Linked DNA regions of Homo sapiens: region 1 is linked to region 2. Evidence: promoter capture Hi-C in human tissues and cell types (Jung and others, 2019). All regions are on one chromosome and are shown on one strand. The core of a region is centred on a gene start or on the middle of the fragment in contact, and the rest is flanking DNA. Distances in the headings are between cores, read along the strand shown. Region 1 has its middle 14 kb from the start of CXXC5. Region 2 holds the start of NRG2 (neuregulin 2).

Evidence for each region. Contacts are between HindIII fragments. The study calls those that stand out against the background at their distance.
Region 1: a contact is called between a fragment that was not itself captured here and the fragment with the promoter of NRG2 in region 2, in 2 of the 25 tissues and cell types used here (dorsolateral prefrontal cortex and lymphoblastoid cells).

What each region holds. Positions count from the first base shown.
Region 1 is chr5:139,631,848-139,636,358 of GRCh38, forward strand. No RefSeq gene overlaps it. Among named protein-coding and RNA genes, the nearest start is that of CXXC5, 14 kb to the right of the region's middle. RefSeq lists an enhancer at 1,477-1,771, a cis regulatory region at 3,806-4,511 and a silencer at 4,451-4,511. The HindIII fragment of the contact is 7,601 bases long and covers 1-4,511 here.
Region 2 is chr5:140,041,750-140,046,456 of GRCh38, forward strand. It overlaps NRG2 (neuregulin 2), which reads right to left and starts at 1,550. Exons shown (of 10, transcript NM_004883.3): 1 at 621-1,550. The coding sequence starts at 1,320. RefSeq lists silencers at 983-1,192, 1,353-1,692 and an enhancer at 1,015-1,684. The HindIII fragment of the contact is 7,156 bases long and covers 1-4,106 here.

The DNA of each region.
Region 1 (4,511 bases), core at 1,780-4,279, 410 kb before region 2:
GATTGAGTGGTGGTTTGTGTGTTTGTTCTTAACGTCCTGTGTAAGTTGTTATTGGTAGAATGGTTTTTTCCAGAGCTGAGGAGCCTGATTGCCCAACATTGTACTCTGAAAGCAAATGGTTGATCCCATTTGGAAAAGCCAAGAAGAGGCCATTGAGTGTCCAGCCCAGGCCTCCTGTGACTGCTGTACAGGAAAGAGCAGCAGCAGCCTTGGTGAATGTACCATGTTCCTTTCCCAACTTCTAAGGATGCGAGGAGTGACAACTGCCATTTTCCCAGGCACACCTCTCCCTGCCCTGAGCCACTTGTTCTCAATTCTGTTTAAACTTCCTTTTTGGTACTTAAAAATCTTAAATCTTAAAAAGATGTCACCCTTCCCTAAACTTTAGAGCCTCTGGAAAATGTGAGTGGGGAGGGTTTGGTTTTTTGAGTTAAAACCTAGTCTTCAAATTGCCAGCTTTCCTTGGGTTTAAAGTTCTCCATAGAAAATGAGATTGCTTTAGAAGCTCCAAAGCTCCTGGGCCCTCTGACTTGGAGGTTTCTAGAAACAACCCACAAATACAATCTGACATTTGGGACGCAGAGCCAGCACCATCTTGGGTAAGAGAAGTGTTCCATGTTTGAGGTAGTTGGCAAATGCTAAGCTACCTATGTGGTGACAGTTGTCTGGAGCTTTTCCCATCTGATTAAGGGGCAATACTGATTTGGTCGTTGTGGGCAGTTTCTCCTCCTAGCCAGCATCACTGCCATCTTGGAAGGTGTGGCTACCTGTCATGTGTTGCACAGAGAGTCGAGGGGAGCTGGCCTCGTTTGAGAGGGCACCTGAGACTTTCAGTCACCTGCTGCAGAGTGACAGAAGGAACAAGGGAAACCAAGGCTTTCCCAAACTTGCCAGAGAAGGTGAGCTTTTTGGAAGGATGGTTCCAAGTGACCTCAGCTTAGTCCTCCTTTGGAGGAAACAAGGCAAGTTGGGGAGGCTCTGGTGCATAACAAGTTATAGGGCAGGTACTGTTTCCTGGATTCAACCTCCAAGCTTCATAAAAAGGCAGTTCCAGCCAGGCGTGGTGGCTCACGCCTGTAATCCCAGCACTTTGGGAGGCCGAGGTAGGTGGATCACCTGAGGTCAGGAGTTCAAGACCAGCCTGAGCAACATGGAGAAACCCCGTCTCTACTAAAAATACAAAATTAGCCAGGCGTGGTGGTGCATGCCTGTAATCCCAGATACTTGGGAGGCTGAGGCAGGAAAATCTCTTGAACCGGGGATGTGGAGGTTGCAGTGAACCGAGATCCGAGATCGCGCCATTGCATCCAGCCTGGGCAACAAGAGAGAAACTCTGACTCAAAAAAAAAAAAAAAGGGCGGGGGGCACTTCCTTTTGAAGTTTCAGATGTATATTGGAGGGAGCAGAATTCCTTTGTGATTTCTTCCTTAATACATTGTGTCCCTGAGGTGGTCCCTGTTCTTCCTGTCTCCTGTCAGCCCCCTGGCTCAGAGGACGGCTGAATGGAGTTGCATTTCAGTGCCCACAGATGGAGGTGATGACTGAAGTGTGTTTGCTTATGTGGGGAGTGAGATGATGGCTTTGGTGTCTGAGTGGATGCTAGTGCCTTGAGTGGCCAGCAGAGGGCAGTGGTGACCCATAGCTGTGACAACCGTGAGGCGTGTGGTCAGTGAATCTGCATGGGCACAACCTGAGAGGGGCTTTTGTTGGAGTGGGGAGATTCTTTCGGACTTAAGCTTTGTGCGTGGTATATCCAGAATCAGATGGGCCAGTGCCAAGTTCAGTCAGGTTCTCAGCCTTACAGTGAAGGAAAAGGTTAGTGACTTGTATTTCAGCCCAAAGCCTACTGGAAGTGTCAAGCTGCCAGCTCCCCTCTGCCCTCCCCGTTGCTATGGCAGCCATGTCTCTGTGTGTGAATAGGTGAACCAGGCTCCAGGTTAGGACCTCTGCCCACCTAGCTCCAGGTTACATGCAGGAAAAGATCTGTCTATTGCTGCATGTGAACAAGGAGATCCCATATTTCTAGCAGGTCACAGAGGCAGCAGTCCATTATCACTTGCCTGCCCACCTACCCTGGGCAACCAGCACATGGCTCCTTAGACCTTGAAGATGGAGGCCTGGGGACAGAAGGAGCAGAGTTGGGGGCTAGTGATAGGGCCTGGGAAATGTTCTTGTCTGTTTCAAGTTTATCTTGTATTTTGGGGCCCTGGTCTCCTCAGTCTTCCAGCCCAACAGGTGTGAGCGTCCAGGGCCACCACCCGGAAGCCAGCTGCCTCTTCATGGGGAAATCTTTGAAATTCAAGGCTTGGCCATCTGGATATGCAAATGTTCCAGATTTGCTGAGCCCACCAAGTGGCTGAGCCCCCCATGCCTGGGGCCTGTCAGCCACATTCTCCATGGCTCCCTCCTTCTAACAGGGACAGGGGCAGGCAGGGAATCTAAATTCCCAGGTCAAGGAGTTTATTTGGGAGCCCCAGGCAGGGCTGTGAGAATTAGCTACCACTGCCCCTAGATGGGGAAAGCTGCCTGGGTGCTGTTGGTACCTAGAACCTAAGCTTTTGCCTACTGATAGACTCTAAGGAGAACGGTGTATTGAGAGCTCCACGAGTCCTGCTGTAGTGCCTAATCATGTGAGGGATTTTGCTGGATCCAAAGGAATCTCAACTAAGAAAGTTTCTGGAATAAGGAGGGAAGCCTTGGGTCTAGCCTCGCTAGAGGGTGGGAGCTACCTGCAGGGAAAGCTGCTGACTTCCTATTATGTCAAACCCAGGCAAATAACTGGAGCTTAGGCAGTTGGCCCCCAGAATTGCTTATTCTCCCCCAGGCCTCCCTCTGGGGCTGGTTTTCTGGCTGTAGCAGGAGGTATGTGTTCTCTGAGTGGGAAAGGAGTGGGGTCAGGGTCAGGGCGGAAACCCGGGAATTTAGATTCCCTGCCTGTCCCTGTCCCTGTTAGAAGGAGGGAGCCATGGAGAATGTGGCTGACAGGCCCCAGGCATGGGAGAGCTTAGGCCAGCCTGTATGTGTGTGTGCAGAAGGGGACTGCACATGTGTTCAGGAGCTTGAGAGTGAGAATTGTGAGCATGTACACTCCTTAGTGTTTATGCATCAGGGTGTGATGCATAAACACGAAGGCTCTGTAGCCTTTGAAGAACAGGATCAGATCTGGGTTTGAATCACAAGACCATGGGTTTTCAGTTGGGCAATAAACTTATCTGTCTTTTGCTTTGATTTTCTCATCTAGAAAACGGGCACTTGGTCACCAGCCTGACCCATAGGCAATGCTTGGTGGAAAATGACCTTATCAAATTAAAGGGTTGTGACCGTGGGTGCTTATGGTTCAGGGAGGTAGGCCTGGACAGTGAGACATCTTTCTTGGATTCCTGTACATGCTAGAGGTTTGCCCTCCTTTGAGCTGGGCTAGCTCCTGGGACATCCAGGGACCTGGGGAAGACTGGCTGGGCCCTTTTGCAGCCTATGGCTCACATGCCCACTTGTTAAGGCCTGCAAGAGTGTGCCCACAAACAGGGTGAGCAGGCAGAATAATGGCCATGGCTAGCCAGACTGTGTGTCCTTGCCCAGTGTCTGTCTGTCCTTCCCCTTACCTTGGGGGACAAAAGGGAATCCAGTTGTCCTGCCTGGTGAATAAAAGCCTGGGGTTGGGGGAGGATTTGCCTCCAGCCACGGAGGAGGGGTATGCTGTGGAAGGAGGCCAGATCTCCCCCAGCTGTTTCCCAGCTCTGTTTGAAGGGGAAGGGAGAGGGATAAATGACTGGGTGATTGTGGCACCTACAGCCAGCATCTTTCCTCTCCACATTCTAGGTCACAGGCCCACACCTCTCTCCCTAGTCAAAGAGAGCCTCTGTGAGGGGGTTGAAGGGTGTCTTGGATCTGTGGGCAGGACTTGGGATCTGGGCACAGAGAGGTTGGGGAATTAACAAAGGTCACACAGCCAGGCAAAACTAGGGAATGTGGGGAGTCATTCTAGACAGGACCTTTAGGGGGAGCTCCCTGGCTACAAGAGATTTCCTGGAAGCCCTTGGGTGGGCCCAGGCCTGAACTGAGGAAGTGAGGGCTACAGCCCAGCTGGCCTTGCACTGGAACCACAGGAGTGGCCTTTAAGGGTGTGCTGAAGGACTGATGAATCTTGGCCCTGTTCCCACACACATGCACCACTGGGAATGGGAGTGGGGAGATTGCTGAGCTCTGGGGCCAGCCCTGTTTCCTGCTTTGGATTTGGAATGGGGAGAGCCTTTCTGGGGACTGAAACTGGTGCTTCAGCTTCTCTAGGGGGAAATGGAGAAATGGAAAGGGGGACTGACAAGGGATAGTCCTTAAGGAGTTTATTTGGGAGGCTCTGGGTCCCTTTGTAACTAGGTGGGTGACCTTTAGGAGGGAAGTGCTTTGTGTTCTACAGCTTTCTGAGAGTGGCAGGAAATGGGGCCAGTAGCAGTGCACACTAGTTGGGTTGCACCTGGTGAGAGATTAGGGGTGGTTTCCCCACCAAGGTCTCT
Region 2 (4,707 bases), core at 300-2,799:
ATGAAGAAAAAAACTGGAGCCACATGGAGGACGGAAAACAGTAGCAGAAAAAGTCCAACTCTGCCTGCGCCAGCGGTGTGGATGAGCAGAGCAACGAGCCCAGGAGAGGAAGGAGGGGGCGGGGGCGACCATTCCCTAGGAGAACTTGTAAGCGGAGGCCTTCACAGCCTGGGAGTCTGCCCAGCTGCTCCCGCAGACCCTGCCAGCCTGGGCACGGCAGGCCCGCGGCAGCAGGGCAGGCAAGGCCTCCGAGGGTCACTCCTGACTCACTGAGCCTCAGGCCAGCACCGCCAGGACCTCTCCGTTTTTCCTTCCGCTACTGGGCTATGATGGCAGCTTTCCAGCCCCACATGCCATACATCAGCCGCAGATCCCCGCTGGCACAGGCCAGCGCCTCCCTCCGCCCCCCACCCCTGGCACACTTTGAGCCTGATCCTTCTTCTCTCCAACCCCAACCCCCTCACCCACCCGTGCCAGGCGCCCTGCCCAGGGGCGGCCCCACCCCCCCAGCGCCCGGACGCTGCCAGGCCCGGGCACCTGCAGCACCTCCCCGCCCCACCCCCATTCTCCACCACCTCGCCCCTCCCCCCTTTCTCCAGCAAAGGGAGGGGGCGACTCACCGCAGTCAGTGCACAGGATCTTGCCCACCTCTTTCTTGAGATTTTTGCCGTTGGTATCGAGGGGGGCAAAGGCCGTCTTAAAGACTAAGGGCTGTTCCGTGGGCTCCAGGAAAAAGATGTAGCGCTGGTTCCTTTCGAGCGGCACACAGGAGCCCACGCTGATCACCTGCTCGCGCTGCAGCCCCCCGCTCCGGAGCGGCCACTTGTCCAGCACCTTTACCAACGCCACCCGACCCGAGGCGGGCGGCTCTCGGGTGCTGTTGGAGCTGGAGCCGCCGGCTGGGACCAGCCCCTGTACCTTGCCCTCCACCACCACGGGTGCCTTGTACGCCTGGTCCTGCACTGACTTGAGGCTGGGCGAGTAGCAGGCGAGCGACACACCGAAGAGCAGCATGGAGAAGCCGGGGGCCGGGTCGCGCCTCATGCCGCCGGCGGCTGCGGCTCGCGAACGGGCGGCGGCTCTCCGGGCTGCGGGGCTGCGGGGCTGCGGCTGTTGCTGCGGCCGCGGCTCTGGGGGCGCAGCGGGACGAGAGATGCTGCTGTTGTTGCTGCTGCTCCTGCTGCTGCTGCCGCTCTCGCTGCTGCTGCTGCTGCTGCTGCTGCTCCTCTCGCTGCTGCTGCTGCTGCTGTCGCTGTAGCTGCTGCACCGACCCTTCTCCAGTGGCGGCGGCGGCAGCGCTGAGCAGCAAACCTGCCGCATCTGGCCAGGCCATTTGGGGGGCTCCGCCGCTCAGCCGCCGCCGCCTTGGGAGGGGAAACAGAGCCCGCTGGAAAACCGGAAACAGCGTAACGTTAGCGCCTCTTAGCCCTCCACCGGCAGCCCGGGGAGGTGGCCCAGCTAGGGCAGGGGGCAGGCGGCAAGCGGGCCGCGATGCGCAGCGCGGCGCAGCGCAGCGCTCCCACCCTGTGCGCCAGGACCTGGAGGAGGATGCGGAGGATGGGACGCCCGCCCACTTGCTCTCTCGCGCCCCCTCTGCCCCCGGACCGAGTAGGGAGCGCGGCTTCTGCAGGGGAAGCTTGGGACTGCACTGCTTTAGTGCCCGCCTTCAGCCCGCAGGGGCGCGGGAGGAATCGTGCCACCCTTTGCTCCCGGGATTTATCGGCATGACAGTGGGGGTGGTGCGTGAGGAGAAGGCGAAGAAGAGATAACGGGCTCCTGGCACCATCCTATGAACGTGGTAATGGGACGCAGGGCGTGCCCCCTGCCTTTGGCCAGCAGCTGTAGGAGCCAGAGAGGTTGCCATGGCCAGGGTGGCCGGCCAGCCTCTCGCCTCTTGGGCTGTCCTCTTTCCTAGGAGGACCCTGGAGCCCAGCCCCTAAATGATACCACGTGCTCGGTCCTGCCACCGCCTGGTGAACGCTGGATATTCGACTTGAGGTGGGGGAGAATCCCAGCCCCGTCATTTTGGAAAGAGTTGGGCCACAAGGTGTCTTGTCTTAGCATTGAGGACACCCAAGCAGAGGTGGTAGCTGAGAAAGGGCCCAGTCCCCAACACTCTGGGCTTTCTTCAGCGGCCACGTGGGGATCTGGCTGAGCACTGTACAACCTCATCTTTTAAAAATCTGATCTCTAAGAAAGGTGGGGGGCTTCTTGGGAGCCAACAGAGAGCCAGAGCCTGTCAGGGCCAGAGGCTGCTCCATAAAAAAGGTTTTTTTTGTTTTGTTTTGTTTTGTTTCCAAGGCTGATGCTTGCAAGAGGCAGAAGAGTTTGCTGCACTGGAGCCAGCATCTGATTTAAAACACACACACACACACACACACACACACACAGGTCCATAATCCATTAGCCTATCAATGAGGGTCCAGGGAGTTTTCAACACCCAGCTTTTAACCTTGAAGGATGTGGAGCTCAGGAATGCCAGTGAGCTCTTGGGGAATTTTATACCGCACTGGGCTCCACAGGAAACTGGTCCAAGGATGAGTGACTTAGGCTAGGACTGCTATTCTGGAAAGGAAGTAGAGAGAGCTACACCTTTCCTCCTAGCTAAGAGACATCTTAAACTCAATACATCCAAAGCCAACATCATTATTTCTTCCACTTCACTCCAAATCCCCTATAATTATTAATGCCACTGTTTTATTCTTTTAGACTACATCAATCCATTACAATAAGTCCCTTCATCTCATCTTTTATTCTTCCTCATCCAATTAATCACCAAGGCCTTTGGGTCTCTCTTTTAAAATAATCTCCAATTTATCTACTTCCACTCCAACTCTGCTGCAAATACCTTAAGTCCAAGCCCTCATCATCTCTCACCTGGACAACTTCTAAGCCTTCTAACTGGTCTCCACTCCTTTCACCTCATCACCTATCTCCAGTCCTACCAATGCCAGAGTGATCCTTCTAAAAATAAAATGTAAGTACAATTTGGCCATGCTACTGCTCTCAGAAGTTAAGTTCAAACTCCTCAGCAAGGCTCTTCATGGGCTCCCTTTGCCTAGCCAGCTTCATATCCTGAGAGCCAACCCCCCACTCTAGCAATCCTCAGCACTTCATGCTCTTTCTTGGTGTGCTTCTGCACATGATGTCTCTTGTGTCCAGAAAGCCTCACCTCCACCTTGACCACATGGAAAACTTATTTTCCCAAGGCCCAGCTCAGCATTATACCGCATCCCCCTTCCTACATATCCACCTCTACTCCCACCAACACATACATGATGGAATTAATCCCTTCCTCCTCTGTATTGCCATGAGCTTCACACATAGTATTACTGTTGGGATACTGGCCCATACCGTATTTCAAGCAGCCATTTAATGGGTCTGCATCTCCCATCAGGCCAGGCACGTTAATGTCAGGGACTATATATATCCTATTCATCTTTGGATTCCTATTACCTCCAACACAATGCCTGGCATAAAATAAGGATTAGCAAATCTCCAGTGAAAGAAGGAGAGAAGGAAGAAAATAACTGAAAATCGGCACGCTTAAAGGCATCAAGCCAATCTTCTTGGCTCCTTCAGTGTCCCCCATTTCATTTTCATAGATCACAGACCTCATAAATCACAAAACATCACCATAAGGAAGATAGCGACATCCACTCTTTCATTTTACAATGAAAGAAAAAGTCCCAGAGGGGATAGGGGACTTACTCAACATTTCACACAGCCAGGACTGAACTCAGTCTTCTGTTCCTGAGACCAGGGTCATAGTGAAGAGCTTGTGCTCTGGAGCCCAGCAGAGCTGGGTTTTAAAGCAACTCTGTGACTTACCAACTTTGGGATGAGTCTATTTCACTCTCTAGGCCTTAGTTTCCTTATCAGTATGAAGGAGAAAATAATAGGGTCTACTTCGTAAAGCTGTTTTTTGCTCAGTATGTACTTTCAATAAATATTCAATTGAATGGCTCCTCTGTGCCAAGCACTGAGGCACTGTATGTTACTGGATGTACTGTGGTGAACCAAACTGTTCAATAGTACATGTCTGTGCTCTCAAAGCTCATACTCTGACTGGGAAGACAACAGTAAATAAGTACACAAATGGGTAACTAATTACTTGTATTGCTGAGTGTCCTGAAGGAAATAAACAGGATGAAATGCTAGAGAATAATGGAAAGGGGAGAGGATAGGTCTACTTGGATAAGGGAAGGCTTCTCTGAGGAGATAACATTTAAGCTGAGACTAGAAGGATGATGAGGATGTGGATTATGTGAGATAATATGTAAAGTGCTTAGAACAATGTCTGGTGCACAGTAAGGGCCAAAATTAAAGTTGAAGATTACTAATATTTTACTTATACTGGTGGTTCCCAATCTAAGAGCTGAGAATCTCTAAGTGGTATTTATTTTCTGTATATTAAAAATATTCACTAGGATTTTCTGTATATTAAAAAATGCGGCTGGGTGCAGTGGCTCATGCCTGTAATCTTAGCACTTTGGTAGGCTGAGTGGGGTGGATCACTTGAGGTCAGGAGTTCAAGACTAACCTGGCCAACATGGTGAAACCCCATCTTTACTACTACCAAAAAAAAAATTAGCCAGGCGTGGTGGCGCTCCCCTATAATCCCAGCTACTTGGGAGGCTGACACAGGAGAAATGCTAGAACCCAGGAGGCAGAGGTTGCAGTGAGCCTCATGACACTACACTCCAG